5 separate regions of the Homo sapiens genome follow, and all the other regions are linked to region 1. Evidence: promoter capture Hi-C in human tissues and cell types (Jung and others, 2019). All regions are on one chromosome and are shown on one strand. Each heading gives the region's core, a stretch centred on a gene start or on the middle of the fragment in contact. The rest is flanking DNA. Distances are from core to core; before and after follow the strand shown. Region 1 holds the start of GFOD2 (Gfo/Idh/MocA-like oxidoreductase domain containing 2). Region 2 overlaps NFATC3 (nuclear factor of activated T cells 3). Region 3 overlaps DUS2 (dihydrouridine synthase 2). Region 4 has its middle 5.8 kb from the start of DPEP2. Region 5 overlaps ATP6V0D1 (ATPase H+ transporting V0 subunit d1).

Region 1 (5,060 bases), core at 1,415-3,914:
ACGTGAAAGTAATGAAGGTTTCTGCACAGAACACAATGATTTTCATGAAGCCTTTCTGACAGAATTTGGTTAACAGTACTGATTTTCCCCAGAGGTTACATTTGCTTTTGATAATGCCCCATTATAACTCCTGAGGTATTTATACAAAATAACCCCACAGGTGCAAGAAAAGTTGGTAAAAAGCACAGTCACAATACCCATAGTTATGGTATGATGCTGAATTATGAAGCCAAGACAAAGTTTTCTTCTTCTTTTTTTGTTTTTTGAAACAGAGTTTAGCTCTTGTCCAGGCTGGAGTGCAATGGCGCGATCTCGACTCACTGCAAATTTTGCCTCCCAGGTTCAAGCGATTCTCCTGCCTCAGCCTCCCAAGTAGCTGGGATTACAGGCGTGCACCACCATGCCCCGATAATTTTGTATTTTTAGTAGAGACGGGGTTTCATTATGTTGGTGAGGCTGGTCTCAAACTCCTGACCTCAGGTGATCCACCCACCTTGGTCTCTCAAAGTGCTAGGATTACAGGCATGAGCTACTGCGCCCGGCCCAAAGCTTTCTTCTTTAAACTGATTTCACCTGTTAACATTATTATACTTCCAATGTATCTTCTTATAAGGGCAAGGGGAAAAACCTGCTGCAAAGTCAAATGTAAATAGAAAATTAGTTTTTATCAAGCTAGGGACAAACTGACTTTGATGATTAGAATCAGGGACCATCTTTTAAAAATCACATAGTTCTAATTTTTAAGTTTTGGGTCAGAGGAGGCTTTCTAAAAAATTGCTAGTTCTACTACCAATGTGTTCTAGTATTACTATAGAAATCAGATAGCAATTGCCCTAGCAAATAAAAATAATAATGAGGGCTGGGTGTGGTGGCTCACACCTGTTATCCCAGCACTTTGGGAGGCCAAGGCAGGCAGATCATCTGAGGTCAGGAGTTCAAGACCAGCCTGGCCAACATGGTGAAACCCCTTCTCTACTAAACATACAAAAATTAGCTGGGCGTGGTGGTACATGCCTGTAGTCCCAGCTACTCAGGAGGTTGAGGCCAGAGAATCGCTTGAACCTGGGAGGCGGAGATTGCAGTGAGCCGAGATCGCACCACTGCACTCCAGTCTGGGTGACAGAGTGAGACTCCGTCTCGATAGATAGATAGATAGATAGATAGAGAATTAGACCCAGACCAATGATTATTCCATGGCAAAGTGGGAAAACCAGGTGGTAAGAGATAACCTCTCACAACAGAATCTTTATCTGTGAAATAAGGATTCGACCAACAGAACCGTCTGTTGAAAATTTCCTCTCTTGGTCCAGGCAGGTTCTCTAAACTCCCAATCCCAAAGCAGTTAATTTTTTCACGTTTCCTGTAAAATGGATGGCCTTAAAACTCTTTTGTTCTCTAGTGTAGCTTTCCAGAAGGAAATAAGTTTCCTTATCAAGAATGAATCTAGCTTCCCCGACTCAAAAACAACCATCTTCTCTATATTGCTCCATATCACAATAAATTTAAGTGCCTTCCTTTTCTAAATTAAATGCTGTTCCCTTCAACTTAAGGGCCACACACTAAGGGCTATTCCTTTAGAGGCTTTTGGGCCCCACAGATCACAAAGGTGGTGCCCTGCCCTAGTTCTTTCTGGACATTTAAAAGGACATCCACTTTCTTGCCCTCAGGATAACATTATGGGAACAATGAACATAAATAAGACAGTTAAATAAGCTTCCCTGATGCCTATCCAATACAGCTTTCAACTCTTCTATCCTGCCTTGTTCTTTAGATCGTGCTGTAGTCTGGAGGGTAAACTCTTCACACAACCATTCCCAAGCCCTCATGTCCCTGTCCACTCTTCCTCCCTCACCTTTTAAGTGTGATAGGGCCTTGATGGGAAGACCTCACTTCACCTTTTGTCTCAAGTCCATCTGCTTCCTTCCAGAGCTACAAATACAAAGGTAGGCCAGGGCCATTGAGACGTGGCCATAGGGCACATGGGAGCTGGCAGAGCCACTCGCACCTTCTGGGGTGTCCCTTCTTCCACCTGTCAACTGAACACCCGTTTCTTAAAGATTTATCCCCAAAAGTCCCATCTCATTCTGAAAGGGGACGAACCAGCTACCCCACGAGCCCTTTGTCTGAGCTTCTACACCTCACACATCCTCATCCACAAAGCGTCCATCCTCACACAGTCAGGTGGTCCGCTCGGCACAGGGCGGGGGAGACTAGGTTTTTGCATCTGGTAAAAGGATGGGTTATGTCTCAGGTTCTTCCAGGATCCCAAATCCTATAATTCTACCACCAAGCCTGCGGGTCCTATTTCTGCGGTGGAAAGGGCGAATCCCAAGGCGACCCTCCACTCCACGCGCCTGCAGGCAGTTGGAACAAGCCCCCTCCAACCCCGGCTCTGCGGGTCCACGCCTCCAACCTCCGGCGCCGGGCCGCGGAGAAGGCCCTGTCGGCGCCCGCTCCCGGCCGCGCCATGCCCTCTTTCGCCCTCACCCGCCACCGGTGGCCGCCTCTCACCTGGCACGCTGGCATCGCCCACTCCGCGCTGCACTGGAAACCATGGGTCCGACGGGGTCTCGGGGGCCACCCATCCGCCTTAAGGAAGGCTGGCGGGGATGCGCGGGCCCGGGAGTCCAGGGCGCCGCCACCGGGAACGCGCCGCCTGGTTTCTAAGGAACTGGGGGCTCTGGAAAGGGAGGGGCGGGACGGCAGGAGGACTGCGCATGCTCCATAACGGGGATGGGCCTGCGCTGGGAGGGGCCGTAGCCGGGAGCTGCGCATGCTCGCTTTTTGGGGGCGGAGCTTAAGCAGCCTGGCTAGGAGGCTCAGGTTATTCATTTCCGGCGGCGGAGGCGGCAGTTTCCTAAGCTTGGCTTCTCTCCGGTCCGCTGACCGGCGTCAGGGACCAGGTTTTGGTAGCTGTGGGTAGCCTCAGTTGTCCTGGAATGAAAGACGGTTTCGTGTTGGACAAGGACATATCTGCAGAAGGCCAGTTCTCTCGAACTCGTCGGACTTCCTGGCTCCCTGACCCCCAGTGACTCGTTTTTCCGTTTTCTCAGGTGCCTGTCTGGGCTCCTCTTCCTCTGGATGTTTTTTGATTGTTCCTTAAATATCAGTGCTCTTCAAGACTGTAACCTCAGTCCCCTTGGCCTCTTTACTGAAGCCTATGCCCCACCAAATAGCAAACTATCCGCTAGAGTAAGGAAGCCGTTAGACCTTAGAATAAAACTGCCTGTGTAGGAAATGTGATTGGGGTTTGTATCTGCATGGGGAGCCCCCGTCCCTGCTTGTCTGACCCTCCTGCTGAGTATCAAGATCCCCACTCAGCTGGCATTAGGATGATCTCCCAGCCATCATTCCAGAGCAGCCTGTGGTGACAGAATATGTCAGCTGACCTAAGCGTGAGGCAGTTCCTACTGAGATATGCTAACTAGCAGCAGAGCTATCCCTGCTTTGAGCGGAGACAGGACTCCTACCACCTCTGTGAGGAGCATGGAAGGCTTCCAAAGTGATGAGAAGTTGTAACCCCTAAACCCCCCCTCTTCTGATGGGATTTTATCCTTTCTCTCCTGGATCCTCTAGAGCCAGGCAGAAGGAAGGCAGAGTCAAAATGTGCCTGTTTGATCTGTTTCTTAGTCATTGTTCGGAGTTCCACTCTTCTTGAGTAGGATTTCTCAACAGTGGCACTATTGACATTTTGGACCTGATAATTCTTTGTTGGGCAGGGGTGGGGGGAGCTGTCTGCATTGTAGGATGTTTGGCAGCATCCCTGGCTCTACCCAGTAGATGCCAGTAGCACCCCAAGCCCAGTTGTGACTACCAAAAATATCTCCAGACATTGCCAAGTGTCTCCCTGGGAGCAAAATCATTCCCAGTTGAGAACCACTAGTCTAGGGGGAAATGAGCCTACTCTGGCTTTACTTATATAGAACCAGGACTTTATGCTTAATCTAAAACCCATATTTTCCCCTTTATGCTACCTCTTCCCTAAGAGCATTCTATAGAGTAATAGTCCTGTAAGATTCTGCTGAGTGACACAGTCTGTAGTAACTTAAGTTTGGAAAGTGCAGGGTTAAGCAACACATTTTAACACAGGATTGAGCTTTTAATTAGCTGGTGGCGATCACTGTGAACATCCATAAGACAGTTTTCCTAATTTACTGGACCACCTCCCAATTCCAGTGACTTTTTTACTGGCAAACCTCCCCTAATTTACTGGCAAACCTCCCAATTCCAGTGACTTTTAGCCACTGCCTGCCCCCTTCTGTTCTGTGTTATTTTGTGGTACTATTATCCATCCCATCACCCCCAACCAAAGTCTGCATTTGCCTTGTCTCTTGCTTCTCCTATTTCCCTCACATTCAGTTATTCATCTTGTACCTCCAATTCTCTCCTAAATCTTTCTCAAACCTGCCCTCTTTGCAGCCTCCTACCTGGGTTCTTTTGCTCCAATTTGTCTCCAGTACCACCTTCAGGTGGACACCAGCATGATCTACCGTATCCCTCCTCTGCATAAAACCCTGGTGCCTCGGGGACAGGGCAGGCAGGAGTGGGCCAGTCACACCACTGGGCATCCTCATGGAGGAAGGATGCTCATGTGTACTGTGTGTATCCCTGTGTGCCAAACACTGCTGTATATCTGCCATAATCCTCTACCTCCACGGGGCAGAAGGATTTACCATGTTTTAAGGATGGGGAAACAGTCTCGGAGAAAGAGGTTAACTTTCCATGTTAACACAGTAAACGGTGCGAGGATTTTGAAACAAGCTCTTGCTCCTCAGGCAAGAGACAGGAAGCTAATTTCAATACCCGTCAGGCTGGGTGCCGTGGCTCACGCCTGTAATCCTAGTACTTTGGGAGGCCAAGGCAGGAGGATTGCTTGAGACCAGGAGTTCGAGACCAGCCTGGCCAACATGGTGAAACTTCTCTATAAAATATACAAAACTTAGCCAGGCATGGTGACACATACCTGTAGTTTTAGCAACTTGGGAGGCTGAGGTGGGAGGATCACTTGAGCCTGGGAGGTTGAGGTAGCAGTGAGCCATAATCATGCTACTGCACTCCAG
Region 2 (5,060 bases), core at 1,586-4,085, 490 kb after region 1:
CCACCTCCCAAATCTATGATCTCTTTCATATTTGCTTACTTTTCTATTAGATTGTTGATCCTTCCTCTTACTGATTTATAGAAGCCCTTTGTTAGGTGCATTAGCTCATTGAGGTATGAGTTGAATGTATCCAGATTTATAAATTTTAAAAGAGGGATTTACAAAAGTCCTCTAAGTCTTGCTTTAAGTTAATGGTTAGAGCTGTGAAAACCTAATTAAGTCATTTCACACAATGTTCTCCCATGAGAAAATCCAAAGTTTGTTTAAAATTCAAAATTTACCATTTTAATCATTTTAAGTGTATAGCTAAGTGGCATTAAATACATTCACAATATTGTATAACCACCACCACTTTCTATTTCCAGAAGTTTTTCATCACCCAAACTACAACTCTATTAAAGTAATAACTACTCATTTCCTTCCCGTCCTCCCAGCCCCTGGTAACCTGTACTCTGCTTTCTGTCTCTATGAATTTCCCTACTCTAGATACTTCATATAAGTGGGATTACACAATGTTTTTCCTTTTTTGTCTGGCTTATTTCACTTAGCATAATGTTTTCAAGGCTCATCCATATTGTAAGCATACGGAGGAATAATCTATTGGAATATTTTTATATAGCATATTATTTACATATAATATTCCATATGGAGGAATAATATTCAATTTTTTGTGTACACCACATCTTGTTTATCCATTCATCTGGTGAAAAATAATTTGGGCCTAGGCACAGTAGCTCACGTCTCTAATCCCAGCACATTGGGAAGCTGAGGTGGGTGGATTGCCTGAGCCCAGAAGATCAGGACCAGCCTGGGCAACATGGCGAGACCCCATGTCTATAAAAAATTTAAAAATTAGTTGGGCGTGGTGGTGTGCGCCTGTAGTTCTAGCTACTCAGGAGGCTGAGATGAGAGGATCACCTGAGCTTAGGAGATGGAGGTTGCAGTGAGCTGAGATTGCACCATGCACTCCAACCCGGGCAACAGAGACCCTGTCTCAAAAAAAGTTGATGAACGCATACATATTAAAAAAAAAAAAAAAAAAAGATGGACAGGGCTCGGTGGCTCACGCCTGTAATCCCAGCACCTGGGAGGCTGAGGCAGGTGGATCACCTCAGGTCAGGAGTTCGAGACCAGCCTGACCAACACGGTGAAACCCCATCTCTACTAAAAATACAAAAATTAGTTGGGCATGGTGGTGGGCGCCTGTAATCTCAGCTACTCGGAAGACTGAGACAGGAGAATCGCTTGAGCCTGGGAGGCAAAGGTTGCAGTGAGCCGAGACCATGCCATTGCACTCCAGCCTAGGCAACAAGAGCAAAACTCCATCTCAAAAAAAAAAAAAAGATAATTTGTATTGTTTCCCTCTCGGCTGTTGGGAATAATGCTGCTGTGAACACTGGCATACATACTGTTTGAGTCCCTCTTTTCAGTACTTTTGTGTGTTTACGTAAGAGTGGAATTGCTGGGTCCTATGGTAATTCTGTGTTCAACTTTCTTTTTGAGATGGAGTCCCACTCTGTCACCCAGGCTGGAGTGCAGTGGTGCGATCTGGGCTCACTGAAGTCTCTGCCTCCTGGGTTGAAGCGATTCTCATGCCTCAGCCTCCTGAGTAGCTGGGATTACAGGCATGTGCCATCACGCCCAGCTAATTTTTGTATTTTTAGTAAAAACGGGGTTTCACCATGTTGGCCACACTGATCTGTCTTCTGACCTCAGGTCACCCACCCTCCTCAGCCTCCCAAAGTGCTGGGATTGCAGGCGTGAGCCACCAAGCCCAGCCTCCATGTTCAACTTTTTGAGGAACCACTATTTTTTTTAATCCTACAGCAGCCACACCATTTTACATTTACAATGTATAAGGCTTTCAGTTTCTTTATACCCTTGCCAACACATGTTATTTTCCATTTTTAAAATAATAGCCATCCTACTGGGTATTAAGTTATATTCATTATAATTTTGATTTGCATTTCCCTATTGACTAATGGTGTTGAGCATCTTTTCATGTGCCTGTTGTCCATTTGTATATTTTCTTGTCTATCCAAATCCTTTATTTTATTTATTTATTTATTTTTGAGACGGAATCTGGCTGTGTCACCCAAGCTGGAGTGTAGTGGCATGACCTTGGCTCACTGCAGCCTCCACCTCCCAAGTTCAAGCGATTCTCCTGCCTCAGCCTCCTGAGTAGCTGGGTTTACAGGCTCACACCACCACGCCTGGCTAATTTTTTGTATTTTTATTAGAGATGGGGTTTCTCCATATTAGTCAGGCTGGTCTCAAACTCCTGACCTCAGGTGAGCCACCCGCCTTAGCCTCCCAAAGTGCAGGGTTATAGGCATGAGCCACCATGCCCGGTCTAGTTTTCAATGTAGAAATCTTATGCCTCTTTGGTTAATTCCTAAGTATTTTATTCTTTTTGATGCCACTGTAAATAGAATTGTTTTTCTTAAGATTGGGCACAGCGGCTCACACTTGTAATCCCAGCACTTTGGGAGGCTGAGGCAGGCTGATCACCTGAGTTCAGGAGTTCAAGACCAACCTGGCTAACGTGGGCCCACCTGGCCAACATGGGGAAACTCTGTCTCTACTAAAAATACAAAAATTAGCTGGGTGTGGTGGCATATGCCTGTAATCCCAGCTATTTGTGGGACTGAGGCAGGAGAATCGCTTGAACCTGGGAGACAGAAGTTGGAGTGAACCAAGATTATGCCACTGCACTCCAGCCTGAGACTCCGTCTCAAAAACAAACCAAAAAAAAAAACCCCAAAACAAGAATTGTTTTCTTAATTTTTTTTGGACCTTTCATTCCAAGTATATAGAAGTACAACTGAATATTGTGTGTTGATTCTATATTCTGCCACTTTGGTGACTTTATTTGTTAGTGCTAACATTTTTTTGTCTGTGTGGATTCTTTAGAGTTTTATGTTTATACTATCATGCCATTCGTGAATAGAGATAATTTTCTCTCTTCCTTTTTAATTTGGATGGGCTTTATGTATTTATTTATTTTTCTAACCTAATTGCTCTGGCTAGAACTTCTAGTGGTAGGCTAGTAGAAGTGGTGAAAGAGTGGGCATCTTTGCTTTGTTTGTGATCTTAGGGGGAAAGCTTTTGTTCTTTGTTGATAATGATAGGAACTAACAGTTTTTCATATATGGCCTTTTTCATATTGAGGAAATTCCTTCTATTCTTTGTTTATTGAATGTTTTCATCTTGAAAGAGCATTGAATTTTGATAAATGAGTTGGGCACGGTGGCTCACGCCTGTGATACCAGCACTTTGGGAGGCTGAGGCGGGCAGATAGCTAGAACCCAGGAGGTGGAGGCTGCAGTGAGCCGTGATTGGGATGCTACTGCACTCCAGCCTGGGCAACAGAGTGAGACCGTCTCAAAGAAAAAGAGTTCTTTCCCTGCCACTGCTGAGTTGAGTGGAGGCAGAGGCTTGGGTGCATTCAAGATTCAGCTTCACCCGTAGACCACCACCATGGCCACGGAAGGTGTTGCTGCTGGAGGTGTGGTGGCTGTTAATACTGCTTTACAAGAGGTGTTGAAGACTGTCCTCACCCATGATGGCCTAGCACGTGGAATTTGCAAAGCTGCTGAAGGGTCAGGCCCATCTTTTGTGTGTTTGCATCCAACTGTGATGAGCCTATGTCAAGTTCATAGAGGTTCTTTGTGCTGAACACCAAATCAACCTACTTAAGGTTGATGACAAGAAGCTAGGGGGAATGGTTAGGTCTCTGTAAAATTGACAGAGAGGGGAAACCCCGTAAAGTGGTTCGTTGCAGTTGTGTAGTAGTTGAAGTACTTCAAATGCAAGAAATGAACGAATAAAACTCTGGCTAACCCCCCTGCCCCCCAACACACACACAGACACACACACACACACACTCACAGTCACACTCACTCTGGGCATGTTGGCTCAATCCTGTAGTCCTAGCACTTTGGGAGGCCGAGGTGGGCAGATTGCTCGAGCCCAAGAGTTCAAGACCAGCCTGGGCAACATGAAATCCCATCTCTGCTAAAAATACAAAAAATGGCCAGGTGCAGTGGCTCGCGCCTGTAATCCCAGCACTTTGGGAGGCCGAGGTGGGCGGATCACGAGGTCGGGACATTGAGACCATCCTGGCTAACACAGTGAAACTCCATCTCTACTGAAAATACAAAAAAATTAGCTGGGCATGGTGGCGGGCACCTGTAGTCCCAGCTACTCGGGAGGCTGAGGCAGGAGAATGGCGTGAACCCGGAAGGCGGAGCTTGCAGTGAGCCAAGATCATGCCACTGCGCTCCAGCCTGGGCGACAGAGTGAGATTCCTTCTCAAAAAAAAAAAAAGAAAAAAAAAAAGAATACAAAAAATTAGCCAGGTGCTGTGGTCCCAAATACTTGGGAAGCTGAAGTGGGAGGATTGCTTGAGCCTGGGAGGTAGAGGCTGCAGTGAGCCATTATTGTGCCACTGCACACCAGCCTTGGTGACAGAGTGACACCTTGTCTCAAAAAAAATAAAAGAATTTTTACAAACACTTTTCTGCATCTATCGAGATGATCATGTGGTTTTTAAATTAATTTTTGTAGAGGTAGGGTCTTGCCATGTTGCCCATGCCAGTCAGGAGTATGTTTTTTTTTCTTTTGTTCAACTAATTTGGCATATTACTTTAATTGATTTTCATTTGTTGAATCATCCTTGCATTCTGGGAATAAAACTCACTTGGTCTTAATGTATCATCCTTTTAATATGCTGCTGAATTGTGTTAGTGTTTTGTTGATTTTTGCATCTATATTCATAAAGAATATTCTGTAGTTTTTTTGTTTTTTTGTTTGTTTGAGATGGAGTCTTGCTCTGTCGCTCAGGCAGGAATGCAGTGGTGTGACCTCGGCTCACTGCAACCTCTGCCTCCCCAGTTCAAGCGATTCTTCTGCTTCAGCCTCCCGAGTAGCTGGGACTACAAGTGCGCACCACCATGCCCGGCTAATTTTTTTGTATTTTTAGTAGAGATGGGGTTTCACCATATTGGCCAGGCTGGTCTCGAACTCCTGACCTCGTGATCCACCCACCTTAGCCTCCC
Region 3 (5,060 bases), core at 951-3,450, 350 kb after region 1:
TTCCAGAATGCTTTAAGCATAACCCTCTACTTAGGGAATAGCTTTTTTTTTTTTTTTTTGAGATGGGGTCTTGCTCTGTTGCCCAGGTGTGAGCATAGTGGCATAATCATGACTCACTGCAGTCTTGACCTCCTGGGCTCAAGTGATCCTCCTGCTTCAGCCTCCCAAGTAGTTGGGACTACAGGCATGTGCCACAACACTCAGCTAATTTTTTATTTTTTTAATAGAGATGAGGTCTCCCTATGTTGCCCAGGCTGGGAATGGCCTTTTCTAAACCAGTTTCTTCTCATTGAGAGGTTGATGGTAGTGCCAAGGGCATATCCCTATAAAAGAAAATGAAGAGTTCACTTGCCTTATCTCTTTGGCACAACCCTGGAACTCTGTGGGACTCTGATCAGCTGCACATGTCTGCAGGGAGAGACAGTGAGTGGTCCTCAAATTCTTCAGTGAATTGGGTCTGAACAGAGGGTGCAGTCTTTGCCCAGAGCAGAGTTCCACCCTCCTCTTCAGTCCTAGGGTTCATACCTGCCTAGGAGTGCCTGTGGCTGCCATGGTATGTGAGTGTTTCCATGGCTGTGCAAGCTAGGATGGTAAGATGCCCTGAGGTCTGCGTCCAGAGCTGGGCAGCCTTTGTCCTATTTCCTGTTCAATGCTGCAGCCCTCACTCCCTGGTTCTGGTGTCCTGCTGGGCAAGTTGGTGACCACCAGCTCTCCAATGGTCTGGGATAGCTCCATGGCAAGGGAGGGCTTGCCCCAGCCCAGGTCAGCTATCCAGCTTTTTGGCCAGCTGGCAAGTCTGGCCAAGAAGACGTGCTGAACAGTGCTGAGCTTGCTCACTGGGTGAAAGGTGATATTATCATTCCTGCTGAGCCATCTCTTGGCAGCTCCTCAAGAGGGTGTGCTATCACAGAGAAAGGGAGCGGCTTTCAAGCATAGGCAGGGCTGCTTCTGGTCCAGCCAGGTGCCTTCTTCCCAGACAAGCTGAGTCAAGGACTTGCCACCAGCCGGGGCGCCCCGACTTACTTCCCACTTTGTCCTGAGCGTGCCGTGGCACTTTCCCAGCCACTGAAGTCATAGGCCCACGTGGAGTTACTAGAGCAGCATAGGGGGTGGGGGATGGGAGGGTGTCCTGGAGGGCTGGGGAAGGCCACCTTCACCCAATACTGCTCTCCTGCCCTACCTCTAGCCAGCCGACTTCCACTGGGTGTCCCAGGCAGTCAGTCATCTTGCCTCCCTGAGCCTTCATTTCACGGTCTGTGGAGTGATGGTGACAGTTGCACCTCACACTTGTATAGATAAATGTAGTCATGAGTAACCCATGTGAACTAAATGATGCTGTGTTTTACCCACGTAGGGGGAAGTTAGAGGCTATTCAAGATGTGGGAAGGGAAGGTGCCCATTCTGGTTAGAAGGAATAGAAGAATCTCACCCCTTTCCTGGCACTGGACCTGCCATGCCAGAATTTGGTGTGTTTCCCCTCCCTTCCCTGGAAGATACTTGGCAGTAGGTCCTCTGTGGTGGCTGAAGCAGGAAGGGGCTCCCGCACTTCGAGACCTCAGTCAGGCTGTCCAGGAGAATGTGTTTCTGACCGTGGTCCTTGGCTGTGACCCTCAAGCTTTGTACCACTAGCTGGAAGAGTAGATGACCAAGGTCGAAGTGGCTTTTTAATTTATTTTTATTTTTATTTTTAATTTTAGATAGGGTCTCAGTCTGTTGCCCAGGCTGGAGTGCAGTGGCATGATCATAGCTCACTACAGCCACAACTCCTGGGTGCAAGCAATCCTCTTGCCTTAGCCTCCCTAGTAGCTATGGCTACAGGTGTGTGCCAACATGCCTGGCTAATTTTCTTTTTCTTTTTTTTTTTTTTTTTGAGACAGAGTTTTGCTGTTGTCGCCCAGGCTGGAGTGCAGTGGCACGATCTTGGCTCACCGCAACCTTCGCCTCCAGGGTTCAAGCGATTCTCTTGCCTCAGCCTCCCGAGTAGCTGGGATTACAGGCACCCGCCACCACGCCCAGCTAATTTTGTATTTTTAGTAGAGACGGGGCTTCACCATGTTGGTCAGGCTGGTCTTGAACTCCTGACCTCAGGTGATCCGCCCGCCTTGGCCTCCCAAGGTGCTGTGATTACAGGCGTGAGCCACCGTGCCCAGCCGATAATTTTCTTTTTTTTAATTTTTGTAGAGTTGAGTCTTACGTTGCCCAGGCTGCTCTTGAACTCCTAGCCTCAAGCAGTCCTCCTGCATTGGCCTCTCAGAGTGCTGGGATTACAGATGTGAGCCACTGCTCCTGGCCAGTGGTGGTTCTTCTTATGGGGGTCACATTGCCTTGGCTACACATACATCTCTGGTGCCTTCTTGGAGCTCCTTTCCCTGCCATCAGAGCATAGCCCAGGCCTTAGAGCCTGCCTGGGCATCAGGCAAGTCATTTCTTTTCTCAGGCGGTGCAGTATGACAACCACTACACCAACACCAAGTACTGCTTGTGCCAGATGCTACGAGAACAGCTGGAGTCGCCCCAGGGAAGGTTGCTCCATGCTGCCCAGTCTTCCCGGGAAATTTGGTAAGAGGCACAATAAGATGTCCATCTGTCCTTGTACGCATTGCCCAAGTTTGACTTTGAGCCCTAAGCTGACTCCACCAGGGGACCAGGGACACAGCTTCTGGATGTAGATGTAGAGGAGTGGAGTGATGGTACAGCTTTGCCTCCCAGGAGGGGATTCTTTGAAAGCTTTGAAACGTCCCATCCCTGGACGGATCAGCAGAGCTCTGGGAACTAGGGTACTAGAAGGATAGAGGAATGCAAAGGAAGGGGATTTTCCATAAATGGGATAGTCACAGGCCAGGCCCCCAGGAACCAGTGGTCAGGAGAATTGGGCTGTAGCATGGAGCCTCTACCTTGAGCCTGCACTCACATCCATCACCCTGCAGTTTGAGAGACCACCTGTTGATTCTCTAGATCAGGTGCAGCTCTAGCTCAGATGGTTGACAGTTGAGGCCCTTCACAAGCTGGCCTAGCCACTGCCCCCACAGCTCCCTGTCTACCTGTCTGCTTCCAGAACTCCACACCTGTGCTTGTAATGGGTCGTCTGCCTGGAAGGCTCTCTCCCTCTCACGTGAGCTATCTGTAGCCTCCCTCTTACATAGATGCCTTTCTGAACCACTTTTGCCATTGGGGATCTATCTTCGTTTGAGTCTTCCAGCCTTCAAGATGTTTCCTAGAAGGGAAAAACCTTTGCCAGAGCCCTCTTCCCACCCTTGGCTTATGGCATTGGTTCAGTCCCTACCCCACATAACTCTGTAGCTCTGGGTGGTGCCTCAGTGTCAGCTGAGACCCATGTATAACTGCCTGTGGCTGGGCGGGAAGTGGGGAACCACTTAGTGGTCAGGCCTCTGTCTCTTCCTCCCATGGGCCCATGTGCTTGATCAGCATTGGTTAACTCAGTCACGGCTGGCTGGGGATACCATCTGTGTGCTTCCCCTCAGGAGAGAGGCTGCAGGTGGTGGGGGTGACCTTTACAACCTTTGCCACCCAGCCCAGCCTCCCTCCAGTGTCCACGCTTGGGTTCACATTCACTTTCCATCTTCCAGTCCACAGTAATCCCAGGGCTGGGCAGGGGGCACATTCTGATGGCCAGGCCCCGGTGGTGTTTTGGTGTATGTGGTAGAGGAGTTTCTCAGTGGTGGGGCCCTGGGGTCCTGCAGTACCCTGGATGCTGGCTCCGCTAAAGTGTTTGCTCTGATCTGCTTCTTCCTCCCTAGTGAGGCCTTTGGCCTTGGTGCCTTCTATGAGGAGACCACACAGGAGCTGGATGCCCAGCAGGCCAGGCTCTCAGCCAAGACTTCAGAGCAGACAGGGGAGCCAGCTGAAGATACCTCTGGTGTCATTAAGATGGCTGTCAAGTTTGACCGGTAGGTCTCCAGCTTGGCCTCAGCTTGGGCTAGGGCCAGCACCCTTGGGGTCCCACTGGGCCAGCACACTGGCTGCTGTATGTGCTTAATGTCAAACGTAGGGACCACAGGTCTTGTTGGTTTGGAAACTCGTTCTAAATTTTCAGCATCCCATAGAAGGTGCTTTCAGGGGAGATAGTCCCTGAAAGGCTGTCCCAAGGATAACTGAACTCTACTTTTTCCCTGATTTACCGCCTCCCACAACTCAGGGCAGGGGGGACTTGTCTCCTGTTCCTGAAAGTCTGTGCTTTTCCAAGGCCCTGAGGAACTGGCTCCTGGCATGAAGCTCCTCAAACAACAGCAGGACCCTAGCCCTCATTTGGCTCTGCAGCCCCTACCCACACCCAGTGCCCCTCACCAGCTCTGTGGTGCTCTCTCAAGCTGCTTACGCCTCAGATTGTGACTCAGCTTTGAATGGTGCCCTCCTCTGGGATCTGAGCCTTTCTCCAGTCCCCAGGACCAGACAGGAGCCAGTCTTGTCTGGCAGAGGTGTGGAGAGGGGGAGCAGGGTGGTGGGGAATAGCTGTTGGGCAGTCAGATGCCAGGGAGAGTTCCAGTTGGGAAGTTGGAATATGACCCCTCCCACCCTGTCACTGTGTCACCCTGTCACAGGCTGACTCTGAAACCAGATTCCAAGTGTCCATGGCTGCAGCAGATGATCATGACACTTGGCAGGCGGAATCAGGATGGGCGCTGAGCTAGATCCCCGAGACCATTGTCTGGCTACCTCCATTGCCCACCTCCACCCACTCCCTACTAATCTTGTCTTGAGTGGCAAGCTTCCTTCTTGGATGTTGAACATTGTTTTTCCAGTCTGGACCTCAGAGTACTGGGAGTTCATTCCCCCTTCCCTTACAATTTCTTGAGCATGCCAAAATTCATCTTCCCTTTAGGGAGAACCCAGGTCCAAGCTGCTGGTAGGACAAGAATGGGAGCCTAGGGGAGCAAGTACAGAAGCCTTAAGGCAGCAGCTCGGTGTCTCAGTTCCTCTCATTTCTGCAGCTCCTTTCAGGAGCTGAGTAGTGCCCTGGCTGAGGGAGGGAGCGGTGATGGTGGGTGACCCCAACTGCTTCCCTTCCTTTCCCCAGGAGAGCATACCCAGCCCAGATCACC
Region 4 (5,060 bases), core at 1,531-4,030, 290 kb after region 1:
TCCTAGGTGGAGGGCACGCAATAGCATTTGCACGCAGATATTATCAAGAATTTTGCCAATTGCTTCAGTTTCAAATAGGTTATTTTCTGGCAGCTTCACCCCCAGGGCTTTCTCAAGCTCTTCTATCATGCTGATTCTCCGGAAGGGTAGGGTGAAGTCAATATTGCAGGCTTATCCCTCTGGGACATCTGGGTAGTAGGTGACCTTGTAACTACCTGTATTATGCTTCACCATCCCTGGAACCATCTTCCCCGTGATTTCCGTGAGATTGTGATAGTCTAGGCCATGTAGAACTCAGGGGTGCTGAACTCAGGATTTTACGTCAAATCAATTCCTTCATTCCAGAACTGGAATGCAATTTCATAAACCTGGTCAATGCCACCAACCACTAGCATCTTATGGTAGAGTTCTAGAGTAGTTCATGTGCAGCTTGTTGTGATAAGTGATGAAAGGCTTGGTCATAGCTCCCCTGGGATGACGTTCATTCATGGGAGTTTCAAGCTCTAGGAATCCCAGCTCATCCAAGAAACTTTTTTTTTTTTTTTGAGATGGAGTTTTCTTGTTGCTCAGGCTGGAGTATAGTGGTGCAATCTTGGCTTACTGCAACCTCCACCTCCTGGGTTCAAGTAATTCTGCTTCAGCCTCCTGAGTAGCTAGGATTATAGGCACCTGCCACCACGCCCATCTAATTTTTGTATTTTTAGTAGAGGTGGGGTTTTACCATGTCGTCCAGACTGGTCTCGAACTCCTGACCTCAGGCAATCTGCCTGCCTTGGCCTCCCAAAGTGCTGGGATTACAGGCGTGAGCCACTGCACCTGGCCTAAGAAACTTATTATACATGTGATGATCTTACAGCAGATGATAAATTTCTGCCTCATTCATTCAGGATCAAGTCCAAGTATCTCTGACCATACCTTATTTCCTTGTCTTTGAGGCCAAAGTGAAGATGAGGTAACATATACAAGCAAGGCCACAGCAGTGTGATCTCATAGGGAATGAAGCTCAGCTCATCCTTCTTGGTTTTTCCCAGGATTCCTCTGAATTCCAATTATGTTTCCCCAACGCAGTTTGTTATTAATATGAATAAATTATTCTTCCTGAAATTATAATTCCTGAAATTGGCCATGACTTGCAACTTGACCCCCTCTGCTCAAAGATCATAGAAGTTCATGGCTGGGCACTGTGTCTCACGCCTATAATCCCAGCACTTTGGGAGGCCAAGGCAGGCAGGCAGATCACCTGAGGTTGGGAGTTCGAGATCAGCCTGACCAACATGGAGAAACCTCACCTCTACTAAAAATACAAAATTAGCCGGGCGTGGTGGCGCACGCCTGTAATCCCAGCTACTAGGGAGGCTGAGGCAGGAGAATTGCTTAAACCTAGGGAGGAGGAGGTTGCAGTGAGCTGAGATTGTGCCATTGCATTCCAGCCTGGGCAACAATAGTGAAATTCCATCTCAAAAAAAAAAAAAAAAAGATCATAGAAGTTCAGCTTTCCTCCAAAAGCTTTTTTGGCATGGATCCTATCTGTCACGTTTAAGGTGATATCAGTCAGGAGATCCCCAGTTTGCAGGTGACAATATTCTGGGATGAAGTCAGTGAGGGAGATGTCTACATGGATCTCGTTGGGGTATGGGTCTTTCCCATTGACCTACCTGACTGCAAATCTTTTTTTTTTTTTTTTTTTTTGAGACAGAGTCTCGCTCTGTTGCCCAGGCTGGAGTGCAGTGGCTCAATCTCAGCTCACTGCAACCTCCACCTCCCAGATTCAAGCGATTCTCCTACCTCAGCCTCCCAAGTAGCTGGAATTACAGGCATGTGCCACCATGCCCAGCTAATTTTTGTATTTTTAGTAGAGATGGGGTTTCATCATGTTGGCCAGGCTGGCCTCGAACCCCTGACTTCAAGTGATCTGCCTGCCTCAGCCTCCCAAAGTGCTAGGATTACAGGAGTGAACCACCGGGCCTGGCCTTGGCTGTGGATCTTGTAGTACTGATTTGGGTCCAGGCTCTCCTCCTCAGGACCCACACCATTGTCAGTGGTATGGTTGGTGGCAGCAGCAGTGACCTGGGCTTAGCTGTTTCTCACTGAGCTCTTACTGCTTGGCTGCCTTCTCTGCCACTTTCTTCTCGGCTTTCAGGTATCTCTTCGGCTTGTTCTTGCTCAGTTTTGACTCACCACCATCCACTTTAACCTTGGCCCCTTGTACTGCAGTCATCTTCCCAGAGGGCCTGGACCCAAAATTGTGTTTTTTTTCTTTTTCTTTTTTTTTTGAGATGAAGTCTTGCTCTGTTGCTCAGGCTGGAGTGCAGTGGCGCAATCTCGGCTCGCTGCAACTTCTGCCTCCAGGGTTCAAGGGATTCTCATACCTCATCCTCCAGAGTAACCAGGAATACAGGCACCCACCACCACTCCCAGCTAAATATTCACATTTTTAGTAGCGATGGGGTTTTGTCATGTTGTCCAGGCTGGTCTCGAACTCCGGGCCTCAAGTGATCCTCCCACATCAGCCTCCCAAAGTACTGGAATATAGGCATGAGCCGCTGTGCCTGGCCCTGTTTTTTGTTTTTTTCACGTGGCCGTGTAGTTAAGGAACCAGCCTTATCGTGTGGGTAAGAAAATTGAGCAGCTGGTCAGATGAGGGGTTCCTTCAATCCCTCCACTTCCAGCTGCTGCCTCTAGGAAAGGCCTCAAATTCCTTACCTCAGCTTCCTGGGATTACAGGCGCACGCCACCATGCCTGGCTAATTTTTTTATTTTTAGTAGAGACAGGGGTTTCTCCATGTTGGCCAGGCTGGTCTCAAACTCATGACCTCAAGGGATCTGCCCACCTCAGTCTCCCAGAGTGCTAGGATTACAGGCGTGAGCCACTGTGCCCAGCCTCAAATTCCTTACATCTATCAGTTTGTCCGGGCATCATTTCCTGATCACCCACTGGTGCTGGCCATTTGCTGGGGTGTGCAGTGAGGTGGCTGGATAAGTCTCCAGCTATCACATGTGCTGGCATAAGCACATGGGGGTGGAGGGTGGGCTCTGTAGAGGCCCCCAAGATCCAGGAGCCAGTGCTGACCAAACATCTAGACAACATGTGTGATTTCACATTTAACCTCAAATTCAGACTTGCTGTCTCTTGCTTAACCTTGTCTGCTGATCTCCGAGGGCTATCAGACCTGTTTCTGCAAAAACACAGTGAAGTCACAGCACACCCTGCCCCGGAGCTCTCTAAGCTTCCTGTTTTTATGCAGAAAGCCTGCCCTCCTGTGAAGCTGACCATGTGAGATCTCACTGACTCCGCATCTGGGTGAATCTGAGAAGCTTAGTTAAAAACAACAACACAAAACTTTTTTTTTGAAACTGTATCTCCCTCTGTGGCCTAGGCTGGAGTGCAGTGGTGCCGTCATGGCTCACTGTAGCCTCAAATTCGGGGCTCAGGTGATCCTCTCACCTCAGCTTCCCGAGTAGCAGGGACTACAGGGTGGTGCCACCACACCCAGCTAATTTTTTTTTTTTTTTTGGTAGAGATGGGATTTCACCATGTTGCCAGGCTGGTCTCAAACCCCTGGTCTCAAGTGATCCTCCCACCTTAGCCTCCCACAGTGTTGGGATTACAGGCATGAGCCACTGTGCCCAGACCAAAAAACTTTTTATAGGAAAAATTGCAAATACATGAGAAAGGAGAGAGAAAAGTGTATTAACTCCCATGTAGCCATCACCCAGTTTCAAAGATTACCAACTGATGGCTCATCTTATTTCATTTATGCTCTCACTCACCTCTTTCTACAGATTATTTTAAAGCAAATCATAGACATCTATTTCATCCATTTTTAAGTATGCCTCTCTAAAAGGTAAGGGCTCTTTTTAGGCTGGGCACGTGGCTCTTGCCTGAAATCACAGCACTTTGGAAGCTTGAGGTGGGTGGATCACCTGAGGTCAGGAGTTGGAGACCAGCCTGGCTAACATAGCGAACCCCATCTCTGCTAAAAATACAAAAATTAGCTGGTTGTCGTGGAGGACACCTATAATCCCAGCTACTCAGGAGTCTGAGACAGGAGAACTGCTTGAACCCAGGAGGCAGAGATTGCAGTGAGCTGAGATCATGCCACTGTACTCCAGCCTGGGCAGCAGAGAAAGACTCAGTCTCTAAATAAATAAATAAATAAATGGTAATGGCTGTTTTTAAAAGACAACTATAAGCCAGGTGCACTGGGCCATTCCTGTAGTCCTACTAGCTATTTGGGAGGCTGAAACAGGAGGATTGCTTGAGCCCAGGAGTTTGAGGCCAGCCTGGGCAGCATACTAAAACCCTGTTTCTGAAAAATAAAATAAAATAAATAAATATATAAATAAATGGCAATTACCATACCATTATGACCCTTATAAAAGTTAACAGTACTTTTCTTTTAAAATTTGTAGAGACAGGGTCTTTTTTTTTTGAGACAGAGTCTCCCTCTGTTGCCCAGGCTGGAGCGCAGTGGGGTGATGTCGGCTCACTGCAAACTCCGCCTCCTGCGTTCACGCCATTCTCCTGCCTCGCCTTCCGAGTAGCTGGGACTACAGGCACCCGCCACCATGCCCAGCTAATTTTTTTGTATTTTCAGTAGAGACGGGGTTTCACCATGTTAGCCAGGATGGTCTCGATCTCCTAACCTCGTGATCCACCCGCCTCGGCCTCCCAAAGTGCTGGGATTACAGGCATGAGCCACCGCGCCTGGCCGAGACAGGGTCCTGTTTTATTCCCCAGGCTGGTGACGAACTCCTGGGCTCAAGCAGTCCTCCCTCTTTGGCCTCCCAAAGTGCTGTGATTACAGGCATGAGCCACCACACCCAGCCACTTTTTTTTTTTTTTTTGAGATGGAGTCTCGCTCTGTCGCCCAGGTTGGAGTGCAGTGGCGCCATCTCGGCTCACTGCAAGCTCCGCCTCTCGGGTTTATGCCATTCTCCTGCCTCAGCCTCCCGAGTAGCTGGGACTACAGGTGTCTGCCACCACGCCTGGCTAATTTTTTGTATTTTTAGTAGAGATGGGGTTTCACCATGTTAGCCAGGATGGTCTCAATCTCCTG
Region 5 (5,060 bases), core at 1,282-3,781, 280 kb before region 1:
GGATCCCAGGAATGAGAGGGCCTGGGTGGCAGAGACAGCTGCCAACCCCTCCCATGGCTTGGTGGTACCTTTCACAGTCCCTCTAGGGGTCTGTCCCCAGCCACCTCCTTCCCTGTGGCCAGCCAAGCTGGATATGTCAAAAATCCCACAGCCTGCCCCAGTGGGGCCCTGCACTTCCTATTTGTGGGGGAACCAACCAACCAGGTATTGGGCTCCATGCCCTGCTACCCACCCAATTGCTTAGCCAATCTGTACCAATCCCAGGAGAGGCTGATCCCAGGGTCAGGGAGGCTGGTGGGACTCTCCTCTGGAGGCTAGGGCAGCTAAAGAAACTGGCAAGATCCCAGCAACCCCGGTACCAAAGTCACCTTCCCACCCCCGCCCTGTCCCCTGGAGTCTGCCAATCCACGGCTGCTGCACCAGCTGCCTACTGTTCCCACCTGCTGGGTGGTTGAGGGTCCGCCTAATCTCCCATCTGTGGTCACCGGGCTGGGACATCGCCTGACAGGCTGGCAGTCCTGGCACAAGGCCCACAGCATTGGGTCTGTGTTTATGAGCTAGTGCCTGGGCAGCCCTCGCCGGCGACTCCAGCTAGAACCAGTCAGGCCCGGTGAGGGCATGGGTGAGGCTGGCGGACAGCCGCACCCCTCACCCTGTCTCAGGGCAGGCAACCCGGCAACAGGCCAGCTAGGCGCGTGCGTACACACACACACACAAACACACACGTGTGTATGCTCTCTCTCCTCTCAGCTAACTGGCTGGCCTGTGCCCTATTAGCGGAGTGGGTGAGAGCACTCACTTTTGCAAACAAGCTGAGCCAGGTGTGATCCCTGGCGCTGCCAGTGACTTATTATGTGGCTTTAGGCAACCCACCCTACTTCTCTGAGCCTTCGGTTTCCCCATTTTCACATGGGGATAATGACACCTTCCTAGTTCCTAGCGCAGTCTGAAGGATTAAAGAAGCTGACGACCTTCCCACCTCTGGTTTCAGGCCCTCTAATCTGCTCTCCACATTGTGGCTAGAAGGGGCTTTCTGAGAAGACTCTGCTCTGTTGGAAACCTCTACTGGCTGACCCTGCCCACGGGACTATGTTCAAACTTCTGGCCTTACATTCAAAGCCCTGGGTAACTTGATCCCATGCCTGCCTTTTCTTCTAGACTTCTCCCCTGTCCATCTGGAATGTGTCCTTCCACAGCAAACTGCCTGCCACTTGGCCCATGCTCTATGCTTTCCTTCTGCACGTGCTGGTCCCTTGCCGACACCACTGCAACCTCCAGGCAGGCCCTTCCCCTACCACCAACCCTCACTGTGCTCTGGCCCAGGCCCCTGCAGGGAGATTGGCAGGCCTGGGCTCAGGCTGCAGCCAAATGTCAGCCAGCTCGCTCCAACCAGGGCAGGAGAGGACTCTCACCCAATAGACAGGTGAGGTCAGCAGGTCCCTCGGCCAGGGCCATCCTCAGCCCTGCTTTGGGGCCTGCCCACTGCGGATCCATGTTCCTGACTGCAGCCCATCTGGGGTCCTGGCGCTATAGCTCAGTGCCTCACCGCAGCCAGAGCAGAGTCTATCCCAGACACCCCTAACCTAACTGGTCTCGGGCTTTTTTTTTTTTTTTTTAAATTTTTAAACTTTCCTCTCCTCTCCGGTCCCCTGGCTCTTTAATCTCTTTGGGCCAGGGTAGTGCTGACCCAGAAATCCTCAGGGGTTGCCCAGTCTATGCTACAGCCTGGTGGGAGGCAAGAGGTGGGCAGGGGATGAGGACAGTGGGAAGTGGCACTGACTCCAAGCTTGGGAACCTACGAGGGACATGAGGACCTAGCTATGCCTCGCCAGATCCCTCCCCCCACCATAAGTGAGCACACTGTTGCCTTTGCTCAAGTGCCTGTCCTTGCTGGCAATAGCTTAGGTAGGGCGGTTCCAGGGGCCACGGCCTGGGTGGTAGTCCATGACCCTCCTGGATGCTGGGGGAGCGGCTGTCCAGGAGCCAGCTGTAACAGGCCAGCGGTGGAGCACCAGCCACTCCTGCTGATTTTATCTGAGCCCGTCACAGGCACTATGGGATGGAGAACCTGTTCCACACAGCCTTGTGCCCAGCATGGGAGCCAGAGAATAAGCAGTAAGTCCCTGGGATAGGAGCCTGACATAGCTGCATCCTGTCCCAGCACCTCACATAAATCACCACCCTACCACTTCCCACAGCCCCACCCACCGACAGGCCAATCCCCCATGGCTTGTGTGGGGCATTACCTTGTAGAGGGTGTTGCGGATGATCTCGATGTTCATCTCGTCAAGGTCCTGCTCTGAAATGCAGTCCTGGAAAAAAGCCGCTGGGGAGGAAACATGGTTTGAGGGGTGGGCAGGTGGCCTAGGCCAGAATCCTGATGTTCAAATGCCCTACACGGCACAGAGTGCCCGTGCCACAAGGCCCACAGGGCTGGGTATTGAGGGGTCCCCAGCCTAGGCTGTTGCCTTGGAAGTGGCAGAAGCAATGCTCTGGGCCATGTACACTGACCTGAGCTTCTCCTGCCTCCTTGCTCCTAAAATTGATTTATAAAGGAGGCAGCTAGCCATAACATGATCTAATCACCGCTGGGGCAGACCCAAGCTCAGACCATGCCAAAGACAGGCTTGCATAAGAGGCCATGACATCCTCCCTTCTGGAGGGGCAGCTGTGGATTCGGGGCCTAACGCCTACTTCTCTACACCTCCCAGGAAGGCCTGGCGTCCACATTTGGAAAACCAGCCTCCTCCTTAGGACAAGTCCAACAGCAGGGTAGGCACAGACCAGCGACCCAGGGGGCCACTGTGGGGTTGGAAAGAGAGGCCAGAGCAGGATAGAGCACCCCCATCCCCCAAGAGGGCCTGCAGACTCACTGGTCTATCTCTTCATTAAAGATGGAGAAACTGAAGAAGCCACAAACAGCCCAGAACCAGCTCAGAGTTGCTGGGAGAGCCTACGGCAGACAAGGTCAGCAGGTAGGGCTCAGGCCTCTTAGCTCAGAACCCAGTGCAGCTTAGAGCCCTGTAGTTCAACCCTGGTGGCTTCTTAGAGGTGGTACCCCAGGCCCAGGACTCTGGCTACAAGGACACTTAATGCCTTCTCCTCGGCCTCCTAAGCAGGCAGGAACTAGCACTGCCTAAGCAGGGCTCTGCAGGAAGCTCTTGATTCCCCTTCCCTGGCTTCTGATACGGACCTTGCATCCTGCTGGATGCTGTCTGACCTGGCCCAGGGGACCTGCTCGGTGGAGGGAAGTGGCAGTGTTTGCTTCGCTCCTTGCCTCACAGGCAGCCACTCTGGCTTTACTCAGGCTCCAGCTCCGGGCCACAGTCTGTCAGAGCTCTCGGGACTCCAAGGGACTTGGGCCTCTCTCACTCTTCTCCATGAGCTCAGCCCTCCTCTGCACTCTGGGAGATCAGACTGCTTCACAAAGTGAGACAGTCCCAGTCAGGCCCTGGGTAGCCTGCCTGGCCCAGCAAAAGCAACAGGACAGGAGCAGAAGAGGGGTGAAGTGAGGAGAGAATCGGAGGAGGAAGTTGAAGGGAGACAAAGGTAAGCAGCAGTGGGCAGGTCTCACTTTCTGGCTCAGGGTCGCCCCCCAGCGGGTCCACAAACCCCACCCTGATGCGCTGATGCTGACACCACTGCCCACCTCCCATGACCACCACAGCGGCTCACCAAGAGGCGTGTCCACCAGAATGGCATTGTAGAGCTCAGCAGGTGTCTGAGCAATGTTCACGGCCTCCATCTGCTCGAAGCTGCCTAGTGGGTGGCACTTGGGCACGAGCTCAGCGATGGAGCGCTGGTGCAGCGTGCCTGTGATGAGCAGGATCACGTTGTCGATCATGTAACTGTAACTACAGGGGGCAGGCAATAGCAAGGAGCCCATCAAGGTGGGGGCCGGGAAGTCCTGGCATAGCACCATGCCCTCGCCCGCCTGCACAGGCCATCACCCCTTAACAATGTATGCTGACTCATGGGTGCTGCGGATAAGCACCAGTGTCTCCTCTCCCTCCCCATGTTCCTCTCAAGCTTCTGACCACCCCCACTGCCAGAGGCCTAGGACAGACACAGGCCCCCCAAACGGGCGGGGGCAGGGGATTCATGCCCTGTGAGGGACTGGGACACGAGCTAACTACCCCACAGCATGAACAGTGTTCTAACAGGACACAGGAATGGGGCACAGGAGGTGAGACATGCAGCCCAGCCCAGGGGGTGAAGAGCGTGAGAGCCTGGGAAATTAAAGGGCTGGGAGAAGAAAGTGTGTTCTGGGAAGAGGGAACAGCATGTGCAAAGGCCTGGAGGCACTCACTGAGTGACGGATGCATTGGAGGAACTGGCATGGTCAGGACTGGCAGAGGGAGAGAAAGGCGCAGCAGCCGGCAGCACGGGGCTGCAGCAGGCGGGGGGCAGAGGCTGGGCCTGGAGGGCCCTGGCTTTGTTTTGAGCACTAGGGATCTATGAGCAGGGTGTAAGCAGGGGAATCGCCATCCAGTTAGGGTCACTCTGTCCCCCAGTGGGGACAGAAGAGGAAGAGGCAGAGATAGCGACAGGAGGAAAGGCTGAGGAGTGGAGTGGAGAGAAGCTTCTCCAGGGAAGGCCAGCAAGGAGCCAGTGGGGGTTCTCTGGAATGAAGGCCCAGGTCAGGCAGACCTGCACAGCCTATGCCAGAGATAGAGAACTGTCCTCTTCTTTTAGGGCCTGAGGCCAGGGCTGGGCATTCACCCAGGACGGCCTGGATAAGACCCAGAGACCTGAACAGGAGGCTGGGTCAGGTCGATCCCAGGCCGAGGCTCCCATCACTCTGCCCTGCAGAAGGCCAGCTCTGTGGGGTACATGGGCAGCAGAGGGGGCTGTGGAGCTGGGGAGGGGTGAGACTGCCCAGTTCAGACTTGGCAAGGGACAAGGCTCTGCCTCCAACCAGCTACAAAGGGGCTGGGGCAGAGAGTTCTGTGTAGTCACCTGTGTGGGGATGCAGTGAAGGCAGTAAGCCCCATTCCACAGTTAGGCTGCAGTAGCCACAACTATCCTCCAGTCTGTCACCAAAGATGAACTCAGGGTAT

What was found. Contacts are between HindIII fragments. The study calls those that stand out against the background at their distance.
Region 2: a contact is called between a fragment that was not itself captured here and the fragment with the promoter of GFOD2 in region 1, in 1 of the 25 tissues and cell types used here (mesenchymal stem cells).
Region 3: a fragment that was not itself captured here is called in contact with the fragment with the promoter of GFOD2 in region 1 in 2 of the 25 tissues and cell types used here (hippocampus and lymphoblastoid cells).
Region 4: a fragment that was not itself captured here is called in contact with the fragment with the promoter of GFOD2 in region 1 in 2 of the 25 tissues and cell types used here (bladder and hippocampus).
Region 5: a contact is called between a fragment that was not itself captured here and the fragment with the promoter of GFOD2 in region 1, in 1 of the 25 tissues and cell types used here (mesenchymal stem cells).

The regions. Positions count from the first base shown.
Region 1 is chr16:67,716,652-67,721,711 of GRCh38, forward strand. GFOD2 (Gfo/Idh/MocA-like oxidoreductase domain containing 2) reads right to left here and starts at 2,665. Exons shown (of 3, transcript NM_030819.4): 1 at 2,512-2,665. RefSeq lists an enhancer at 1,983-2,062 and silencers at 2,423-2,472, 2,533-2,582. The HindIII fragment of the contact is 6,116 bases long and covers 1,132-5,060 here.
Region 2 is chr16:68,205,982-68,211,041 of GRCh38, forward strand. The region is part of intron 9 of NFATC3 (nuclear factor of activated T cells 3); the gene reads left to right. It also overlaps the pseudogene RPS12P27. Among named protein-coding and RNA genes, the nearest start is that of MIR6773, 25 kb to the right of the region's middle. The HindIII fragment of the contact is 3,682 bases long and covers 995-4,676 here.
Region 3 is chr16:68,071,597-68,076,656 of GRCh38, forward strand. DUS2 (dihydrouridine synthase 2) reads left to right here. Exons shown (of 17, transcript NM_017803.5): 13 at 2,438-2,559; 14 at 3,759-3,908; 15 at 5,036-5,060. Among named protein-coding and RNA genes, the nearest start is that of NFATC3, 11 kb to the right of the region's middle. RefSeq lists an enhancer at 3,726-3,835. The HindIII fragment of the contact is 3,051 bases long and covers 676-3,726 here.
Region 4 is chr16:68,002,792-68,007,851 of GRCh38, forward strand. It overlaps the pseudogene KARS1P3. Among named protein-coding and RNA genes, the nearest start is that of DPEP2, 5.8 kb to the left of the region's middle. RefSeq lists an enhancer at 3,795-4,568. The HindIII fragment of the contact is 4,078 bases long and covers 742-4,819 here.
Region 5 is chr16:67,440,853-67,445,912 of GRCh38, forward strand. ATP6V0D1 (ATPase H+ transporting V0 subunit d1) reads right to left here. Exons shown (of 8, transcript NM_004691.5): 3 at 3,676-3,854; 4 at 2,247-2,326. Among named protein-coding and RNA genes, the nearest start is that of HSD11B2, 12 kb to the left of the region's middle. RefSeq lists enhancers at 2,658-3,281, 3,906-4,529. The HindIII fragment of the contact is 3,547 bases long and covers 759-4,305 here.